7 separate regions of the Homo sapiens genome follow, and all the other regions are linked to region 1. The links are contacts of gene promoters, found by promoter capture Hi-C in blood cells and fetal thymus (Javierre and others, 2016). All regions are on one chromosome and are shown on one strand. Each heading gives the region's core, a stretch centred on a gene start or on the middle of the fragment in contact. The rest is flanking DNA. Distances are from core to core; before and after follow the strand shown.

Region 1 (2,783 bases), core at 284-2,783:
GGCGTGGTGGCTCACGCCTGTAATCCCAGCACATTGGGAGGCCGAGGTGGACGGATCACGAGGTCAGATCGAGACCACCCTGGCTAACACGGTGAAACCCTGTCTCTACTAAAAATACAAAAAAATTAGCTGGGCGCCTGTAGTCCCAGCTACTAGGGAGGCTGAGGCAGGAGAATGGCGTGAACCCGGGAGGCGGAGCTTGCAGTGAGCCGAGATCGAGCCTCTGCACTCCAGCCTGGGCCACAGAGCAAAAGAAAAACAAACAAACAAACTTGTCAGCTCCATCTGCTGTAAGAATTATATGAGTAACATGGAAATGCCTGACTAGACCCTGTTCCCGTTTTTACCCTTAGCCCGTTCAAATCTTCATAAGGATAATTAGTAGCAGTTTGAGTTCTGGGATTCACACTCCAAACTACTGTTTTACTCACCCAGCTACCCTTTTCTGAAATACTACTGAAAACCATACCTGTATCAGTTTACCTCCATTGTTTTACTTGAAGTGAATTCCTGGACCATCAGACATTAGACCAAGGCAAAAAAATAAAAATAATCAATCAACCCTGAGTTTTGGTATTACTACTTTCTAGTCATGGATCTGCCTCCTCATAGGTAAAATTTGCAAAATATTACCCGCCGTGTGTGCCTCAGAACTGTTATGGATTAAGGAAGAGAACAATTTTTATGAAAACGTTTTGTAAATTATACAAGTGTGGGACATAATGTTCCCGGTAACTGTATGCAAACAATAAGACAACAAACGCAAAAGGCTTTTTAACTTGTTGCAGTTTTCCTGCCCCGTGTCCCTCCGTGAATGAGCAGCGTGCAGCGAGCGTGTGCGCACAGCTGCTGTTCTCCATTAACGCCACACTGCTCGGCTTGCGGACGGGGAAACCCGCCATCGCGCTCCTGCCGCCTGCCGAGCGAGGATCACCGCTCCACTGGGGTCAGCGGGCTGTTGACTCCCCGCCTGGGTGAAACCGGAGCTTCCGAGTCACGTGGCGCGCGAAGACAAACCTGGCTGCTCAGGGTTTCCCGGAGCTTTCTCCCAGCTTCCCGGCGATTCATATTCTGGCGCTTACCCCTCCCTTTAGGCTGGCGGAACCCAATCCCCGCCTGACAAATAAGTCCCGCCGGCCGGACGCAGTGGCTCGCGCCTGTGGTCCTAGCTGCTCGCGGTGCTGAGGCGGGAGAATCACCTGAGCCCGGGAGGTCGGGGGCTGCATGGAACCGTGATCGCACCACCGCACTCCAGCCTGGGCAACAGAGCGAGACCCTGTCTCCAAAAATAAGAATAAAGAAAAAAAAAAGAAAGAACTGCGGCCCCATTGGCCTGACTCTCCTGAACAGCCAAACTGTCTCCGACCAGTTACGGAAGAGGCGGCCTTGAGAGGGTAGTGTGCCATTGGCTCGATGTCCTGCCCCTCCGAAACCTAAGTCTTCAGCTTCCAATCAGGACTCAGCTTTGGGAAGAGCGCCACGCGGTGGGCGAGGGGATGCCCTAGTAAATTCGCAGGTCTCTTGACTCTTTCCGCCTTTGTTTACAACCCTGCCATGATCTCCCTCTTGCAAAAGCGAGGGCTACAGAACAGGCATTCAGGAGTCCTGTGCTCCAGTCACAGCCTTTTCTGTTCTTCAGCTAGGAGACACCAAACCCTCAGGAAGATTTACTATAGCTAAGAGAAAACTGCAGCAGAAAGGGCGCGGCTACCTACTTCTTAAATTCCGTTTGTGGACCCTCAGACTCTTAGTCCCCTACTCCCAGATACAGCGGCCCTACCGTGGCTCCTGGCAAGGTGGCATCCACTTTTGTAGTGTAAGGCTGGGGGCGGGGTTTGGCTGGCAGGTCCAGGATACGAGATCCTGGAAGAAAGAAAAGGTGTAGTGTTTGGGGAGGTCAACGGGCTATGCTGGCTTGACAGGGCTGGGCTCTTCAGAACAGGTAATGCTTGGGGGGGGCCTCTTTGTCTAAACCTGAGGGATAGGGCTGAAGGTGAAATATCGAGGGGACAGGTGAGGGGGCTTGCTAGTGAGGAAGGAGTGGGGGGGCGGGGATAATGGAAAAGGGAGCAGAGGAGCCCAGAAACTGTAGGGGGTAGTAAGCAGCCATCATTCCGTTTCTGCAACCCTCCGTCCCACACGCCTTCCTGCAGAAGCATGGATCTCGGAATCCCTGACCTGCTGGACGCGTGGCTGGAGCCCCCAGAGGATATCTTCTCGACAGGATCCGTCCTGGAGCTGGGACTCCACTGCCCCCCTCCAGAGGTTCCGGTAACTAGGCTACAGGAACAGGGACTGCAAGGCTGGAAGTCCGGTGGGGACCGTGGCTGTGTGAGTGTGACGAGTGGGAGTGGGGGTGGGGTTGAGACACAACTCTGTGATAAGAGGCTTCAGCTCCCACTTGGAGACAGGTCTGAAAACAGACCACCCCCAAAATAGACGTAAGTTGTATAATAACTGTCTCCATGCCCAAGAAGTGAAAGGACTGAAAATGAAGCATAAGTCAGGGAGGACTTCCAAAATTCTTCCCTGCACATATATATAACCTTTTCCTACTGTAGGGCCTTCAAGAGAGTGAGCCTGAAGATTTCTTGAAGCTTTTCATTGATCCCAATGAGGTGTACTGCTCAGAAGCATCTCCTGGCAGTGACAGTGGCATCTCTGAGGACCCCTGCCATCCAGACAGTCCCCCTGCCCCCAGGGCAACCAGTTCTCCTATGCTCTATGAGGTTGTCTATGAGGCAGGGGCCCTGGAGAGGATGCAGGGGGAAACTGGGCCAAAT
Region 2 (2,700 bases), core at 124-2,623, 130 kb before region 1:
ACGCCCACCACCACGCCCAGCTAATTTTTTGTATTTTTGCTATAGAGATGGGGTTTCACCGTGTCAGCCAGGATGGTCTCGAACTCCTGACCTCGTGATCCGCCCACCTCAGCCTCCCAAAGTGCTGGGATTACAGGCATGACCACCACGCCCAGCCAAGACCCTGTCTCTATAAAAATAAAAATTTAAAAAACCTCCTGGAAATTATTTACCATTGCAGGAGGAAGTAAAACTATTAACATTTTTCTTTTCTTTTTCTTTTTTTTAAGACGGAGTTTTGCTCTTGTTGCCCAGGCTGGAGTGCAATGGTGCGATCTCAGCTCACCTCCACCTTCCAGGTTCAAGCAATTCTCCTGCCTCAGTCTCCCGAGTAGCTGGGATTACAGGCATGTGCCACCCCAGGCCCAGCTAATTTTGTATTTTTAGTAGAGAAAGGGTTTCTCCATGTTGGTCAGGCTGGTCTCGCACTCCCGACCTCAGGTGATCTGCCTGCCTCGGCTTCCCAAATTGCTGGGATTACAGGCATGAGCCACCACGCCCGGCCTAAAACTATCAACACTAACAGGAATTTGAAAGAAGTTGATTATAACTTTCATACATGACCTTTGACAGGTTCAAGGTTTCAATGGAGGAAATGACTGCAAAAGTGGTAGAAACAGCAAGAAAACTACAATTAGAAGGGAGCCTGGGCAAGGCACAGCTGGGATCCCAGCACTGTAATCCCAGCACTTTGGGAGGCTGAGACAGGAGGATCACTTGAGCCCAGGAGTTCGAGACCAACCTGGACAACAAAGTGAGACCCTATCTCTACAGAAAATAAAAAAAAAAATTAGTTGGGCACGGTGGCATGCACCTCACTCAGGAGAGTGAGGTGAGGGGATCGCATGAGCCCAGGAGTTTGAGGCTACAATGAGCTACGATCATGCCACTGCACTCCAGCTTGGGTGACAGACCACAACTGAGTCTCTTTAAAAAACAAACAAAAAACAAAAATTTGAATGGATAAGGAGTTGCTTCTTATGGATGAGCAAAGAAAGTGGTTTCTTGAGATGGAATCTACTCCTGGTAAGATGCTGTGAACACTGTTGAAATGACACCAGAAGATTTAGAATATTCCATAAACTTGAGTTGACAAAGCAGCAGGGTTTGAAAGAAATGACACCAATGTTGAAAGCAGTTCTACTGTGGATAAAATGGTATTAAACAGTACCGCATGCTATATGAAAATCTTTCATGAAAGGAGAGTCAATCCATGTGGCAAACTTCATCATCTTATTTTAAGAAACTGCCAGGTTGGGCAGGCGCAGTGGCTCATGCCTGTAATCTCAAAAAAAAAAAAAAATTGCCAGGTTACCCCAACCTTCAGCAACCACCACACTAATGGGTGAGCAGTCATCCACATGGAGGCAAGACACTCTACCAGCTAAAAGATAATGACTTGCTGAAGGCTCAGATGATTGTTAGTACTTTTTAGCAAGAAAGTGTTTTTTATTTAAGATGTATTCATTGTTTTCTTAGACATAATCCTATTGCACTTAATAGACTACAGCATAATGTAAACATAACTTTTATTTTATTATTATTATTATTTTTTTGAGACAGACTCTTGCTCTGTCGTCCAGGCTGGAGTGGAGTGGCGTGATCTCGGTTCATTACAACCTCTGCCTCCTGAGTTCAAGCGATTCTACTGCCTCAGCCTCCTGAGTAGCTGGGATTACAGGCGCGTACCACCATGCCCAGCTACTTTTTGTATTTTTAGTAGAGACAAGGTTTCACCATGTTGACCAGGCTGGTCTCAAACTCCTGACTTCAAGCAATCCTCCCGCCTCAGCCTTCCAGAGTGCTTGGATTACAGGCGTGAGCCACTGCGTCTGGCCTAAACATAACTTTTATATACACTGGGAAACCAAAAAATTTGTGTGACTTGCTTTATTGCAATATTTGCTTTATTGTGGTGGTCTGGAATGGAACATACAAAATCTCTGAGGTATGTCTATACTTTAGAAAAGTACACAGTAAGGCAGTGGCTTGTGTGTGTAATCCCAGTGACACAAGAGGATCATTGGAGGCTGAGAGTTTGAGACCATCCTGGGAGACTCATCTCTAAAAAAAAATTTGTTTTTTTTTTTTTTTTTTTAGACAGTCTGTCACCCAGGCTGGAGTGCAGTGGCACAGCCTCGGCTCACTGCAAGCCTCCCAGGTTCAAGTGATTCTCATGCCTCAGCCTTCCAAGTAGCTGAGATTACAGGTGTTCGCCACCATACTCGGCTAATTTTTGTATTTTTAGTAGAGACGAGGTTTCTCCATGTTGGCCAGGCTAGTCTTGAACTCCTGACCTCAAGTGATCCGCCCACCTTGGCCTCCCAAAGTGCTGGGATTACAGGCGTGAGCCACTGCACCCAGCCTAAAAAAGTTAAAAAAAAAAGGCATGGTGACTGAAGTGGGAAGATCATTTGAGCCCAGGAGTTTGAGGCTGCAGTGAGCTATGATTGCGCCACTCTACTCCAGCCTGGGTGACAGAGCAAGACCCTGTCTCTTAAGTACACATAGCAAGATATACACATTTAAGTTGATATACTACAGTATTCTAAGTTTTGAGATATATTCACGTGCACTGATAGTATATGACAAAACAACAAAATTCAATAACCTAGAGCTAGAGTTTGGGGTGCCATCATTACCTTGGCTCCTTGAATTGAC
Region 3 (2,700 bases), core at 45-2,544, 210 kb after region 1:
GCTCATGAAATGTAAGACATCATGCAGCTCACCAGTAGTTACCCAAACTGGAGTAGAAGATAACAGGCTATGGGGCGGGGGTGTACAGTTGCCATGACAGCAAGCTGGCTCAGGCAGTTTCTCCCACAAATCAGCATTTACAATAGAATTCTTAGCAAGGCTGAAAAGGGAGAGGGGGAAAACACATCTTGGTGCCCTCCTAAGAGCATGCACACATGAACAAGCCTGTATCAAAAGCAGAACCTGAGATGGGAGTCCTAGAAAAAGCTTCAGAGACCCCCTCCAGGGTGGAGTGGTAGGGAATGGGACCTTGCCTTTCTCTTTTCTCCTAGCACAGAGGATCAGTTCTCTTTACAATGAAACAAAAGCCTGCAGAATCAAGATCTGATACTTTGTTTAAAGGAACAAGGAAGACAAGCTGACTTTTCCCTCATGAGTCTATGCACAGTGCCTGTCCCTTTCAGGTCAAATAATACCAATGGGTACCAAGAGATTGAACAGGCCTACTTTTTGCAGACCAGGCTACCTGTGGCCCTGGGAAACGTTAAGCTCTGCACTTTCCTAATCATCTTAGGTTTTAGCATGCCCATCCAGATGCGGTTTTGGTGTTTCAGCTGACCTATCTCTGCCCAGTGTGGAGGATATACAGTACTCTGTGGTTCTTCCCTTCAAGTAATAATAGGATTCTCCACTGCCCAGGAAGCAAAGATCCTGGGTGAGGGATTGGGGAAAGAGTAGAATGCCCCAGCAACTCAGTCACATTACCAGATGGCTGACAACACCTTCGGCTATCCTCCACTCCAAAGAGATTTCCCAAATATGTCAACCCCTCCAGGCAAGAAACTGACAGTGTGATGGTACTCTCAGGCAGAACAGGGCCAAGGACAGAAGGGGATTAGCCTAAATCTGGCTTTCTGCCACACTGGGGTTTCTCTTATTAGATAAAAGCCACAGATAAAATTCAAATGAAAGAGTATCAGAAAGTTAGGCTTGAGCCCTGTGAGTAAAGGACTATTTGAGTTCACTGTGCTCACAAATGCATTACCCAGGGAGATACCGTGTCCTTGGGGAATTTAAACTTCACCAAAGGGGAGGCAAGTTGGAAGGGAGTAGAGCTATCTGCCCCACAGTAAACAAAGGCGGAGCCTAAGCAGGGGTAAAGGGCTATCTGCCTCTCCCCTGTGAGTGTGTGTTCTAGTACTGGGGAAAGAGAAAGGAAAGCAAAGCAACCAAAGAAAGGTTGCTTAGTCCACCAGGCCCACGAATAGAAGAGAACCACACAACAGTCAAGCATTCTAACCTCTCCAGAGACTAGGAATTTAGGATTAAGGCCAGAATCAAAGCCCACTCCCTCGGTAGTACTCTTAAGGTTTTTGTTATTACTTTTTTTTTTCTTTTTGAGGCAGAGGTAGTGTGCTGACCTTACACTCCCGCAGTTGACCCCTCACTCCCCCAGTGCCGATACTCGCCCAGGCTGGAGTACAGTGGCATGATCCAATCCTGGTTCACTGCCACCTCCGCCTCCAGGGTTGAAGCAATTCTTGTGCCTCAGCCTCCCAAGTAGCTGGGATTACAGGCATGCGCCACCATGCCCAGCTAATTTTTTGTATTTTTAGTAGAGATGGGGTTTCATCAGATCCACAGGTGGACCTCAGATCCACCCGCCTAGGCCTCCCAAAGGGCTGGGATTACAGGTGTGAGCCACCGCACCCAGCCTCTTAAGTTTTTTAGACTAGAAAAAAATTAAAAAGAGAAAAATATCAGGGACAATTAGGAGAGAGTTATTAAAAACAGATAAGGTGAACTGTACATTTATAAATGGTTAAAATGGTAAATTTTACATGTATTTTTATCACCACTACCACAAAAAAAAAGAGATAAGGAAAAAGACTGCATTTAAACATTATGTTGCCATCTGTTTCCATTTAGACAGAAGTAAAAAGGAAATACAGAACTGAAAGTAAATTTGACAAGGTGCTACATTATAAAAGACCAATTTCCAGGCCGAGAGCAGAAAAGAAAGATGGATCCTAGAACACCAGTGTCTCAGTTTTAGACTCATCTAGCTTCCCAACAAGGGTGGCTTGGATGTTCACACAAAGTAACCAGGAAAATAATTAAGTGACAATCCCACTAACAGCATGAGATACCATCAGAGAGTGCAGTTTCCCGCTCCAGAGGAGGGAGGAGTCTGCAAAACCCACATTCCAGAATGCCTTAAGAGGATAACAGGTAGCCCAAGCAACCCCCCTCCCTTCCCACAGGTGTCTCCTCCTCAGTAGGGGTTCAAAGTTCAGCAGAGCAGCAGAAAGTCAAAAGATTAAGCTTCTTCAGGCTGGGGAGTAGAAGAAATGATTTCATCAATATTTAACTATAACTCTACTTCCCCATTCTGAGGACTTCCTCACTAGACCTCAGCTCAATAAGCAAATTTGGCAGGCTCTGAGTGAAAGTAGCTTAAGAAACATCACCCCAGGACAGGCGCAGTGGCTCATGCCTGTAATCTCAGCACTTTGGGAGGCTGAGGCAGGCAGATCACTTGAGGTCAGGAGTTTGAAACCAGCCTGGCCAACATGGTGAAACCCCATCTCTACTAAAAATAAAAAAATAAAATAATAAAAAAAAATCGCCGAGTGTGGTGGTGGATGCCTGTAATCCCAGCCACTCAGGAGGCTAAGGCAGGAGAATCACTTGAGCCTG
Region 4 (2,700 bases), core at 177-2,676, 210 kb before region 1:
GTGTTCCCATGTTTCCATTCTTCTTCCTGACTCCAGGGCCACTTGACCCCTAAGGGCCCTTCTTTCACTCTGGTCTTCCAGAGTGTCTCAGCCTTCACTTCCCTTTGTGTCTCTAGAAATTTACTTACACTCATTATTTTCCATCTGGGTTTGAGATTGAACAGGTTCATCTCCCCCATTACTGCCAACCCCCAAAAGCCTGGGTTTCTGGAGCGTCCCTGCCTTTTTCATTTTTGCTTCCAGAAACCATATACAGCTATTCCTCTTAACTGTTTCTTTCTCAGATTCAGAGCTTGCATTCTTTAGACCCTCACCACCATGCCTTTTTGGCATCAGCTTTGTCTACTTCCCTTCTGTAAATGCAGCGAATCTGCAGTGGAGGCATTTCCTTTCAAATGTTTTCCTCTCTGTGCCTAGGGTGGGAAACTATCCATTCTCTGGCATCTGGCTGCCCCCTGACCTCTTCCAACAGGGTTCCTCCTCCCCCATTTGACTGGGTCCTTGGAATGTGCTGATTCAGATATGACAACAGGCTATTCCTGGAGGGGTGGGGGTCTCTTCTTCAGGAATGTGCCTGGAGAGCCCAGAAAGGGCAGCCAAGGGGTGCTAGTCTGACTGTTGCCTCAGCTCAGGGGTGATGAGTGGACTTCTGAGTCCAAGCATTGTCCCCTATGGGAATCAGAGATATGAACTGCTGGATGTATCAAGAACCCAGGCCTGCCGAGCACGGTGGCTCACGCCTGTAATCCCAGCACTTTGGGAGGTTGAGGTGGGCAGATTGCTTGAGCTCAGGAGTTTGAGACCAGCCTGGGCAACATGGCAAGACCCCATCTCTACAAAAAAATACAAAAATTAGCCAAGTGTGTTGGTGTGCGGCTGTAGTCCCAGGCTGAGGTGAGAGGACCGCTTGAGCCTGGGAGGTAGAGGTTGCAGTGAGCTGAGATCCTGCCACTGCACTCCAGCCTGGGTGACAGAGTCAGACCCTGTCTCAACAACAAAAAGAAAAGAACCCAGGCCTGGCCAGGCATGGTGGCTCTCACCTATAATCCCAATACTTTGGGAGGCTGAGGTGGGAGGATCACTTGAGCCCAGGAGTTCAAGACCAGCCTGGGCAACATGGCAAAACCCATCTCTACCAAAACAAAACAAAACAAAACATAAAGCCACGCATGGTGGTGTGCTCCTGTAGTCCCAGCTACCAAGGAGGCTGAGGCTGGGAGGATCACCCGAGCCTAAGAGGTCAAGGCTGGAGTAAGCCGTGATCATGCCACTGCGCTCCAGCCTGGGTGACATGGCAAGACCCTCATCTCTACAAAAAAATAGAAAAATGAGCCAGGTGAGGTGGTGCGTGCCTGTAGTCCCAGGCTGAGGTGAGAGGCTCTCTCGAGCCTGGGCGGTGGAGGTTGCAGTGAGCTGAGATCATGCCACTGCACTACAGCCTGGGCAACAGAGCAAGACCCTGTCTGGAAAAAAAAAAAAAAAGGTTCGGGGGGTACCTGGCCCAATCCCTGTCCTCTGTCCTCTTGGTTAAGACCATAAGACCACAGAGTATTCACTCATACACAACACAAGGGGGGTTAGCATTTCACCGTGTTTCACTAGGAACTGAATTTCATAGATGAAACAGCCAAGTGGGGCCTGGAATCTGTCTTGGGACTCTGAAATGGAGGGGGGTGATTGATGAAACTAGCCCTCTGTTTCTCCCCTCTCTTTTCCAGTCAAATGTCGCTGCCTCCAATGCCAAGCTGGCTTTGTTTTATGACTGGCTGTTCTTTAGTCCAGACAAGGATAGCATTATGAACATAGGTATGTGACCAAGACCAGGCGGCTCCACTTCCCCATCCCCCTAAGCCCCCACTGCCTTCCTTAGTGATAGCAGTCATAAATCTCAGGGCACCGTGGAGTGGAGGCAGTTTATCTGGGAGCAGCTCTGTTGTTCCTCATCAGTTTTCCCTTGACCTAGAAAGAGAATTGCTTTGATAAGGCTAAGCCATCACTGTACCTCCTCCCCACAGTCTTCAGGATGCATGGTCTTCAGGAGGGGAGGGCATGGGCAAAGGAAAAGGCTGTACCATGTCCTGCTTCTCCTCACCTATTACTTCCCTTCTCAAAGCTGAATGCTGGGAACAAGAAGGGAAATGAGGGCTACAAGCTGTTTCGGGGCCTGTCTGCTCTTGGGTCTGCTCAGTGGAAATGGGGGGAATAGACATAGCACTTCCCAGAGCCATTCATGTATATTGACATCCCATTTTATGGAGATAGAAACAGACTGACTTTAGCCTGGCGTGGTGGCGCACACCTGTAATTCCAGCTGCTGGGGAGGTTGAGGCATGAGATTCGCTTGAACCTGGGAGGCAGAGGCTTCAGTGAGCTGAGATCGTACCATTTGCACTCCAGCCTGGGTGACAGAGCAAGACTCTGTTTCAAAAAAAAAAAAAAAAAAAAAAAAAAGAGAGAGAGAGACTGACTGATGTGAGGGGCTCTTTAATTTCACATCCTCCAGAACCAGCCATCCTGGTCATGCACCACTCCATGAAGCCCCACCCAGCCATCACTGCCACACTCCTGGACTTCATGTGCCGCGTAAGTGTTAGAGCTCTCTTTTCTCCCCATGCCTGGATGAGCAGAATTCAGTGTATCTCCCCTAATCTCCCAGTGAACGGGTCTTCTCGGTATGCCTTGACTGAGAGCAGAAATGGT
Region 5 (2,740 bases), core at 222-2,721, 230 kb before region 1:
TAGCTCCTGGTTTTTCTTCTGCCAAAGAGGGACCAATCACTTTTAAATCAGGCTGAAAGTGGGAGGCCCAAGAGCGTCCTCTTTTTTTTTTTTTTTTTTTTTGAGATGGAGTCTCACTCTGTCGCCCAGGCTGGAGTGGTGCAGTGGTGGGATCTTGGCTCACTGCAAGCTCTGCCTCCCGGGTTCACACCATTCTCCTGCCTCAGCCTCCCGAGTAGCTGAGACTACAGGCGCCTGCCACCACGCCCGGCTAATTTTTTGCATTTTTAGTAGAGACAGGGTTTCACCATGTTAGCCAGGATGGTCTCTATCTCCTGACCTCATGATCCGCCCACCTCGGCCTCCCAAAGTGCTGGGATTACAGACTTGAGCCACCGCACCTGGCCCCGCGTCTTTTTTTAACTTTTTTTTTTTTTTTTTTTTTTTTGAGACAGAGTCTCCCTCTGTCGCCCAGGCTGGAGTGCAGTGGCGCGATCTTGGCTCACTGCAACCTCTGCCTCCCGGGTTCAAGCGATTCTCCTGCCTCAGCCTCCAGAGTAGCTGGGATTACAGGCACTACCACTCCTGGCTAATTTTTGTATTTTTAGTAGAGATGGGTTTCACCATGTTGGCCAGGCTGGTCTCGAACTCCTGACCTCAGGTGATCCACCTGCCTTGGCCTTCCAAATTGCTGGGATTACAGGCATGAGCCACCGAGCCTGGCCAGAGCTTCCTCTTAAGCGCTGGATAGGTCTCAGGGTTGCATTTGGTTAGAGGTATGTCTCTACCTGGTTTTCCCCAAGGAATAATTCATATACATATGTGAGGAGTCTCCAGGGACTGGGCTTTGAGTCACTTCTAGTTTTTGTCCCCTTACAAATCATAATTTCATATACCAGTGACTCATGGTTGTGGAATACTTTGAACGCAGCTTGTTCAATAACTCCTCACCTACGTGAGTCCTTGGGGATTTTTTTTTTTTTTTTAAACGGAGTTTCCCTCTTGTTACCCAGGCTGTAGTGCAATGGCGTGATCTCAGCTAACTGAAACCTCTGCCTCCTGTGTTCAAGCGATTCTCCTGCGTCAGCCTCCCAAGTAGCTGGGATTACGGAAGCCCACCACCACACCCAGCTACTTTTTTTGCATTTTTAGTAGAGACGGGGTTTCACCACATTGGCTAGGCTGGTCTCAAATTCCTGAACTCAGGTGATCCACCTGCCTCGGCCTCCGAAAGTGCTGGGATTACAGGCGTGAGTCACTGTGCCTGGCCATCCTTGGGGATTTTATGAGTTAGATTGTATATTCCTTTTCTGAAAATGAGGAATTTAGTCTTTTTTTTTTTTTGAGATGGAGTCTCACTGTGTTGCCCAGACTGGAGTGCAGTGGCATCATCTCGGCTCACTGCAACCTGCACTTCCCAGATTCAAGCGATTTTCCTGCCTCAGCCTCCTGAGTAGCTAGGAGTAAAGGCACGCACCACCATGCCCGGCTAATTTTTTTGTATTTTTAGTAGAGACAGGGTTTCACCATGTTGGTCAGGCTGGTCTTGAACTCCTGACCTCGTACACCATGTTAGGCTGGTCTCGAACTCCTGACCTCATGATCCACCTACCTCGGCCTCCTAAAGTGCTGGGATTACAGGAATGAGCCACCGTGCCGGGCCAGAATTTAGTCTTTTAAGGCCACTGACTTCCCATAGGGAGCAGTATTTACCGAATGCTTTTTTTTTTTTTTTTTTTTTTTTTTTTTTTTGCAGATGCAGTCTTGCTCTGTCTCCCAGGCTGGAGTGTAGTGGTGCGATCTCGGCTCACTGCAACCTCCGCCCCCTGGGTTCAAGCGATTCTCCTGCCTCAGCCTCCCAAGTAGCTGGGACTGCAGGTGTGCACCACCACGCCCAGCTAATTTTTGTATTTTTAGTAGAGATGGGGTTTCACCATGTTGTCCAGGCTGCTCTCGAAGTCGTGACCTCGTGATCTTCCTGCCTCAGCTTCCCAAAGTGCTGGGATTACAGGCGTGAGCCACCGCACCCAGCTGTCCTTGGGGATTTTATGAGTTAGATTGTATCTTCCTTTTCTGAAGATGGGGAATTTGGTGTTTAAGGCCACTTCCCATAGGGAGCAGTATTTACTGTATGCTTTTTTTTGTGGGGAGATGGATTCTCGCTCCGTCACCCAGGCTGGAGTGCAGTGGCGCGACAGCTCCCTGCAACCTTCGCCTCCCGGGTTCAAGCGATTCTCCTGCCTCAGCCTCCCGAGTAGCTGGGACTACAAGTGTGCGCCACCACACCCGGCTGATTCTTGTATTTTTAGTAGAGATGGGGTTTCACCATGTTGGCCAGGCTGCTCTCGATCTCCTAACCTCGTGATTCGCCCCCCTCAGCCTCCCAGAGTGTTGGGACTACAGGCGTGAGCCACCACACCCAGCCACTGTATGCTTTTTACCAGACTCTATATCCACCTGGCTGAGGGAGGGGAAATGGAAAGGTTAGAGGGGTTCCTCCAGCTTGAGTCTCCAGCTTTGGGTATATACTGGGAAAGAGAAAGGCCTTCCCCCCCTTTCTCCCCCATTTCATCTGCTGCTGCTCTCATGGAAACCATGGTCAGGTAGTCTTAGTATTAGAAAAATTAGTTCAGGAGCTCCTAGAGATTGTAAATATTTACTCAGCTCTCTAAGGTACTGTCATGGAGGGCTTACTCTGAACAGAGCCATTCTGCCAGCAGTTGTTGGCATCTGAACCTATGATTCTATCTTTACTAAGAGA
Region 6 (2,700 bases), core at 97-2,596, 160 kb before region 1:
GAATTTCGCTCGTTGCCCAGGCTGGAGGTGCAGTGGCACAATCTCAGCTCACTGCAAGCCCCACCTCCCAAGTTCAAGCGATTCTCCTGCCTCAGCCTCCCGAGTAGCTGGGATTACAGGCACCAGCCACCACGCCGGGCTAATTTTTTGTATTTTCAGTAGAGATGGGGTTTCATCATGTTGGCCAGGGTGGTCTTGAACTCCTGACCTCAGGTAATCCACTCGCTTTGGCCTCCCAAAGTGCTGGGATTATAGGCATGAGCCACCACGCCCAGCCAATTTTTTGTATTTTTAGTAGAGACAGGGTTTCACCATGTTGGTCAGCCTGGTCTTGAACTCCTGATCTCAAGTGATTCGCCTGCCTCGGCCTCTCAAAGTGCTGGGATTACAGGTGTGAGCCACCGCGCCCTGCACAGCAACTTTATTTCAATCCCCACTCATATTCCTAAGCTTTAGGAAAAGGGGACTTCCTGAAATTTCGGTCCTACCAAGAATAATGAACATGCTTCTGATGGTATGGGAGAGACAAGTGAAACAGTGGTGAGAGGAAGATGAATAAGACAGAGAGATAGAATCATTAAATCAGCTTTGATTTTGAGGCTGCAGATTGTGCAGAAGCATCCCTGGATCATTCAAACAGAACAGTTAACCCTGCTGTCCCGGCCAAAAGAGATCAATAACCACATGTCTACTGAAGGGATATTAAAAGTTAAATTGATAATGGTAGGATCTGGGTCATTTTCACCACCAAAACCCTAGTGCATTGTGGGTGGCACTTAATATGAATTTAGCAAACATTTGCTGAGTAACAGAAGAGTGAGAGTGTATGCCCTAAAGAAAGAACAGAAAGTAAAGGAACAATTCCCTTAAAGGGGCTGCTACAGAACTGTATACTAACTAACAGCTGACCCATGAGAAACATTTTCAGATTAATCCTTCTTACCTGGCATACCAAGGAGGCCACCTGGCACAGACAACTGGGGTGCCTGTGCAAAGTTTGAAAGCATGGAGCGGGCAGATGTGGGTATGCCACGCTGGAGGCTGCTCTGGGGCTGTGGAGCCTGCAATGATGAGGAGACAGTGGATACAACTTTGATATGATAGAATGTTAAGCGGGGGCAAAGATAAGGGAGTACAGAAGAAGACTATGATTTCCCACAATAGAAAGGACAAATTGTGATAAATGGCTGATAAATCTTCTAAAGAAATCAGGATCAGGCAAAAAGTTCCTTACCTGCCGAAGCGTATGATGTCTCATGATGGTCTCTTGTTTACTGACACTGGACACAGCTGGAGCCGTAGTGGGGGAGAGGGCTGCCTGCTGCTGTAATCGCTGTTCAATTTCCTGTTGGGAGTCATCACATCAGGTGATTGAGCAGGACAGCACCCAATACCCAATTTCCTTTTTTTTTTTTTTTTTTAAACAGAGACACAATCTGACTTTGTTGCCCAGGCTGGTCTGGCACTCCTGGGCTCAAGCAATCCTCTCACCTTAGCCTCCCCAAAGTGCTGGGATTACAGGCATGAATCACTGCACCTGGCCCACCCAATTTCCTAACCAGAAAACCTGGAGGTGTTCTTACCTCTAATGTTGTTGGCTAGTTGGTGGAATATGGAAAAGGCAAAAGAGTTTGGTGGGGGTGGTACACTGAGATTTCTGGGTATAAGCAGCTAACTTGCTTCAATGATCAAGGGATCCTCCTCTCTTTCTCCAGGAAAGCTGGCTCTAAGAAGTTGGCTGGAGGTGATGAACCAACTGATATAATTAAGGCTGATGAATTACTGGGGTTTTATTTTATCACTTTTTCTTTTCTCTTTTTAAAAATTTTTATTTATTTATTTTTTACCACCAGTCCTAGAGCATAAATGGGGTTTTATTTTTGACTCCTGCCTACCCGATCTTCCAAAAAGTCCATGATGCTACTCAAACAAGGGACTCTGATGGGTGGAGTGGGAAATAGGAAGAAAAGGATCTGAGTTTCCCAACACATTTTTCCTTCTCTAAGATATTCTCATCCTATAACTGCTACATGAGATGTTCACATACTCTAGAACCACTACTCTTCACTGGGCTACTTCATAATTCACTCTTTCTTTCGTCATTTCTTATCAAACACGCACTGCAAATAACTGTTTCAAAGAGATTTATAGCACAAATATAAATTCCTCCCACCAAAATCTATTATTTGTTTTAGGAAAAAATGAAGATGAGAATAGAGTGCTATGGAAAAGCCAAGAGTCCCAAGCTTTCTGTCCCTTTCTGTTAACCTCAGCCATTATATTTTACCATGTTCTTAATCAGAATACTCGCTCAAATGGAAATAGGACACAATGATAAGGAGACAAAAAGGGAACCTGTGGACCTGTAGGGATCACATGAACCACTCCTGCAAACTAGAAGGCGCGACCCTTTGGAAAAAACAAACTGGGACAGGTGGCCAGTGAGCAGTCAGAATTCTTACCTGTTCCTGCTGTAGGGCTTTCACAAATGCATTTTTCAGCCGGTTGGTGTGTTCAGCTTTTAGAGCCTTTTTCTGGTTGGAGGTCATACACTGCTCACATAGAATCTTACCATTCTTTTCTTGCTTCCAGTGAGGGGTGAAATCTGTGCGGCACTGGGCACATACAAAGGGTTCAACCCGCAGAAGTGAGGCACAGCTTTTGCCTAGATACCAACAAAAATAGTCAGTGGCTTTACAT
Region 7 (2,700 bases), core at 197-2,696, 240 kb after region 1:
TTGTAGAGACGGAGTCTTGCTCTGTCACCCAGGCTGGAGTGCTGGAGTGCAGTGGTGCGATCTTGGCTCACTGCACCCTCCGCATCCTAAGTTCAAGCAATTCTCCTGCCTCAGCCTCCCGAGTAGCTGGGACTACAGGCGCACACTACCATGCCTGGCTAACTTCTTTTGTATTTTAGTAGAGACAGGGTTTCACCATGTTGCCTAGGCTGGTCTTGAACTCCTGAGCTCAGGCAATCCTCCTGCCTCAGCCTCCCAAAGTGCTAGGATTACAGGCGTGAGCCACCGCGCCCGGCTGCATCAGTTTTTTCAAAAGTTCATCAGGGTGAAAAGGATACGTAGCCCAGTCTTGTGAATCTTCTCATTCACTGGTTCAACAAATACTGCACTACCAACCACATAATTAGTACAAAGCCAGGCAACAAATACTTGAATTCTTGATAAAAAAAGAAAATAAAAACATGCTTCAATTTTTCTCCAGAGAATGAGGCAGGGGACAATAAAAACCAATCTATATCACCTAACCTAGTAGGCACTAAGAGGCTGATCTCATTTGCTTTGAGGACAAGGCTGCTTCTCACCCCTTCCGCATCTGTTTTCCTCTTGATGAGCCCCTAAAGAGATGCAGCAGAGTTGGGAGGTGGCTCAGGGAAGACAGCAGAGTGGAAAGGTCAAGCTCAAAGGTAAAGGGAGGGGATAGAAGCAGATTACCTGTCGACCGTCTTCTTAAGTCCCATGGCCTTTTGAAAACTCTGCAAGAAAAGGTAGTTCTGTTGATCTGCCTCAGTCTCCAGAACCTCTATTCTAATGAGAGACATAGACCTTTTTTTTTTTTGAGACAGAGTTTTGCTCTTGTTGCCCAGGCCAGAGTGCAGTGGCGTGATCTCGGCTCACCGCAATCTCCGCCTCCCGGGTTCAAGCGATTCTCCTGCCTCAGCCTCCGAGTAGCTGAGATTATAGGAATGCACCACCATGCCGGGCTAATTTTGTATTTTTAGTAGAGATGGGGTTTCTCCATGTTGGTCAGGCTAGTCTCGAACTCCTGACCTCAGGTGATCCGCCCACCTCAGCCTCCCAAAGTGATAGGATTACAGGCGTGAGTCACCGCACCCAGCCACATAGACCTTTTTGAGAAAGCAATTTCCTGGGGGGAAATAGGGAGAGGAAAGCTCTACTTTCAGAATGGATCAAAGAAAACACGCAGGGGTTGGATAGAACACATATTTGAATACCTACTGTGTACTAGACACAGCCTCCCACTCCTGTTACTAACTACATTATACCCTTGTTACATCAAAAGCCTTTCCCAGTAAAAGATGCACTTATAGTAAATTGATCTGGAAACTTCATCAAACTTCAACCCAGCCCCTCCTTCCAACTCTGCATACCTCTTCTACTTTTGTCATCTTTTCCACAGACATGTCTATAGATTTGCTTGATACAGTCTGAGGAGACTGACAGGCTCCTCTGTTTAGTTCAGTAACCAAGGTTTCAGTAGTCATAGTAACATTTACACCTCCAACAATAACCCTGGGCCTAGGAGTTGATTGGCCACCTGGCCTGTTGCCCCAGAAACCTTGAGAGAATCCTTGTTCTGCAGCCTTCTGTTGGTGACACAGGCATCTATGAGCAAGGGCCACAGTCCTGATTTTAGGATTTCTTGTGCTAGGGTCCCAAGGAGTATGTGTATGGTCGTAGGTCCAGGGTATGCACACAGTCCCACCAATTCTCTGGAGGCAAATCCTCATGCCCTATACCCTGTTAGAAATGTGCAGATAACATTATCAAATGCCTGTTTTATTAAAAGACAACTATAAAGGACTGATTCATACGTTTTATTTGATAATAGTTCATTTTATTAAATAATTTATAAAGTCAGACCAGTGCATTGGGCTTGTTAGGGGAAACCATTCCTTCCTACTGTCACATAGCCTGGCAGATTATATCAGGTGCCAAAACATTCCCTTTTATTCAATTTATTAATGAGAGTGTGGAATTAAAGTAGATCCTTGCATGTCAGGAAAGCTGCAACACATCTGGTTTAAGTGGAGCACAAAGGTAAGTTATTCCACATTCACCAACTTCCCCACTTGACCTCCCACCAGTTCCTGTCTGCTTTTTCCATCAATCAACTCTAAGATGCCCTAAACCCAAACAGTTCCCATTCAACTGTGCACAAAGGTATAGATATGGAAGACATCTCACTCCAACTCTCACCTTTGGAATTAAATAAACCTGGAACAGGGAAGGTGAACTATGGCTGAAACCAAGTGAAGATTTTTAAGAAGCTTTGACAGAAACATTAAGAATAACACCTGAATGCAAATCCAGAAAAAAGCGCTACTGGGGGAAAATAGTCTTAGCCAATGTTCTAAAAATGCTCATAAGGAAGGGTTGGGGAATTACCCTTTAGACACAAGCTCTAAGAACTCTGGATACAACGGGAACTTGGATGGATACAGTCTGGGCCTGCTGGGCCAGATGTTCCGAGGGCGGCCCGGCAAGCAGCCTGTCTTGCACATTGCAACTGACTGGCTTAATCTACGGCAAGAGTCCTTCAGCTCCGTCACAGAGTACTCTCCAATGTGTTATAGTTATCCTTAAAGCTCTTCAATTCAAGGAAGTGCTTGGCACGTTTACTCTTCTGACTGGAGGGGAGGTATGTCACCTGGATGGTTGTTGGGGAGACCTCAGGGGACT

The links. The method cuts DNA at HindIII sites, captures the fragments that hold promoters and counts their contacts. A CHiCAGO score of 5 or more calls a contact.
Region 2: a contact is called between a fragment that was not itself captured here and the fragment with the promoter of CREB3L4 in region 1, in 12 of 17 cell types (total B cells, monocytes, naive CD8 T cells and 9 more). The highest score is 10.7, in total B cells.
Region 3: a fragment that was not itself captured here is called in contact with the fragment with the promoter of CREB3L4 in region 1 in 6 of 17 cell types (M0 macrophages, erythroblasts, total B cells and 3 more); the score reaches 7.7 in M0 macrophages.
Region 4: a contact is called between a fragment that was not itself captured here and the fragment with the promoter of CREB3L4 in region 1, in 5 of 17 cell types (total B cells, M2 macrophages, monocytes and 2 more). The highest score is 9.6, in total B cells.
Region 5: a fragment that was not itself captured here is called in contact with the fragment with the promoter of CREB3L4 in region 1 in 13 of 17 cell types (total B cells, M0 macrophages, naive B cells and 10 more); the score reaches 11.1 in total B cells.
Region 6: a fragment that was not itself captured here is called in contact with the fragment with the promoter of CREB3L4 in region 1 in 17 of 17 cell types (total B cells, total CD8 T cells, naive B cells and 14 more); the score reaches 19.0 in total B cells.
Region 7: the fragment with the promoter of CFAP141 here is called in contact with the fragment with the promoter of CREB3L4 in region 1 in 4 of 17 cell types (erythroblasts, M0 macrophages, megakaryocytes and 1 more); the score reaches 6.9 in erythroblasts.

Annotation. Positions count from the first base shown.
Region 1 is chr1:153,966,369-153,969,151 of GRCh38, forward strand. It overlaps CREB3L4 (cAMP responsive element binding protein 3 like 4), which reads left to right and starts at 1,534. Exons shown (of 10, transcript NM_001255978.2): 1 at 1,534-1,796; 2 at 2,154-2,331; 3 at 2,562-2,783. The coding sequence starts at 2,158. It also overlaps a transcript of SLC39A1 not described here. RefSeq lists enhancers at 820-1,676, 1,111-1,330, 1,541-1,650, 1,681-1,800 and a silencer at 1,291-1,792. The HindIII fragment of the contact is 4,469 bases long and covers 1-2,595 here.
Region 2 is chr1:153,834,146-153,836,845 of GRCh38, forward strand. The region is part of intron 1 of GATAD2B (GATA zinc finger domain containing 2B); the gene reads right to left. Among named protein-coding and RNA genes, the nearest start is that of SLC27A3, 60 kb to the left of the region's middle. The HindIII fragment of the contact is 5,159 bases long and covers 1-2,700 here.
Region 3 is chr1:154,178,151-154,180,850 of GRCh38, forward strand. All of the region lies in intron 2 of TPM3 (tropomyosin 3), which reads right to left. Among named protein-coding and RNA genes, the nearest start is that of TPM3, 13 kb to the right of the region's middle. RefSeq lists an enhancer at 2,043-2,700. The HindIII fragment of the contact is 2,058 bases long and covers 266-2,323 here.
Region 4 is chr1:153,757,808-153,760,507 of GRCh38, forward strand. It overlaps INTS3 (integrator complex subunit 3), which reads left to right. Exons shown (of 30, transcript NM_023015.5): 11 at 1,719-1,806; 12 at 2,504-2,583. Among named protein-coding and RNA genes, the nearest start is that of SLC27A3, 16 kb to the right of the region's middle. The HindIII fragment of the contact is 8,511 bases long and covers 1-2,700 here.
Region 5 is chr1:153,731,499-153,734,238 of GRCh38, forward strand. The region is part of intron 1 of INTS3 (integrator complex subunit 3); the gene reads left to right. Among named protein-coding and RNA genes, the nearest start is that of INTS3, 4.8 kb to the left of the region's middle. RefSeq lists an enhancer at 2,249-2,740. The HindIII fragment of the contact is 3,671 bases long and covers 1-2,740 here.
Region 6 is chr1:153,810,788-153,813,487 of GRCh38, forward strand. It overlaps GATAD2B (GATA zinc finger domain containing 2B), which reads right to left. Exons shown (of 11, transcript NM_020699.4): 8 at 2,463-2,665; 9 at 1,235-1,345; 10 at 944-1,061. Among named protein-coding and RNA genes, the nearest start is that of SLC27A3, 37 kb to the left of the region's middle. The HindIII fragment of the contact is 1,796 bases long and covers 449-2,244 here.
Region 7 is chr1:154,204,887-154,207,586 of GRCh38, forward strand. It overlaps CFAP141 (cilia and flagella associated protein 141), which reads right to left and starts at 1,447. Exons shown (of 4, transcript NM_001010979.3): 1 at 1,389-1,447; 2 at 712-752. The coding sequence starts at 1,421. It overlaps LTAP1 (lipid transport auxiliary protein 1), which reads right to left. Exons shown (of 7, transcript NM_001098616.3): 7 at 1,834-2,700. The coding sequence ends at 2,567. The HindIII fragment of the contact is 7,725 bases long and covers 1-2,286 here.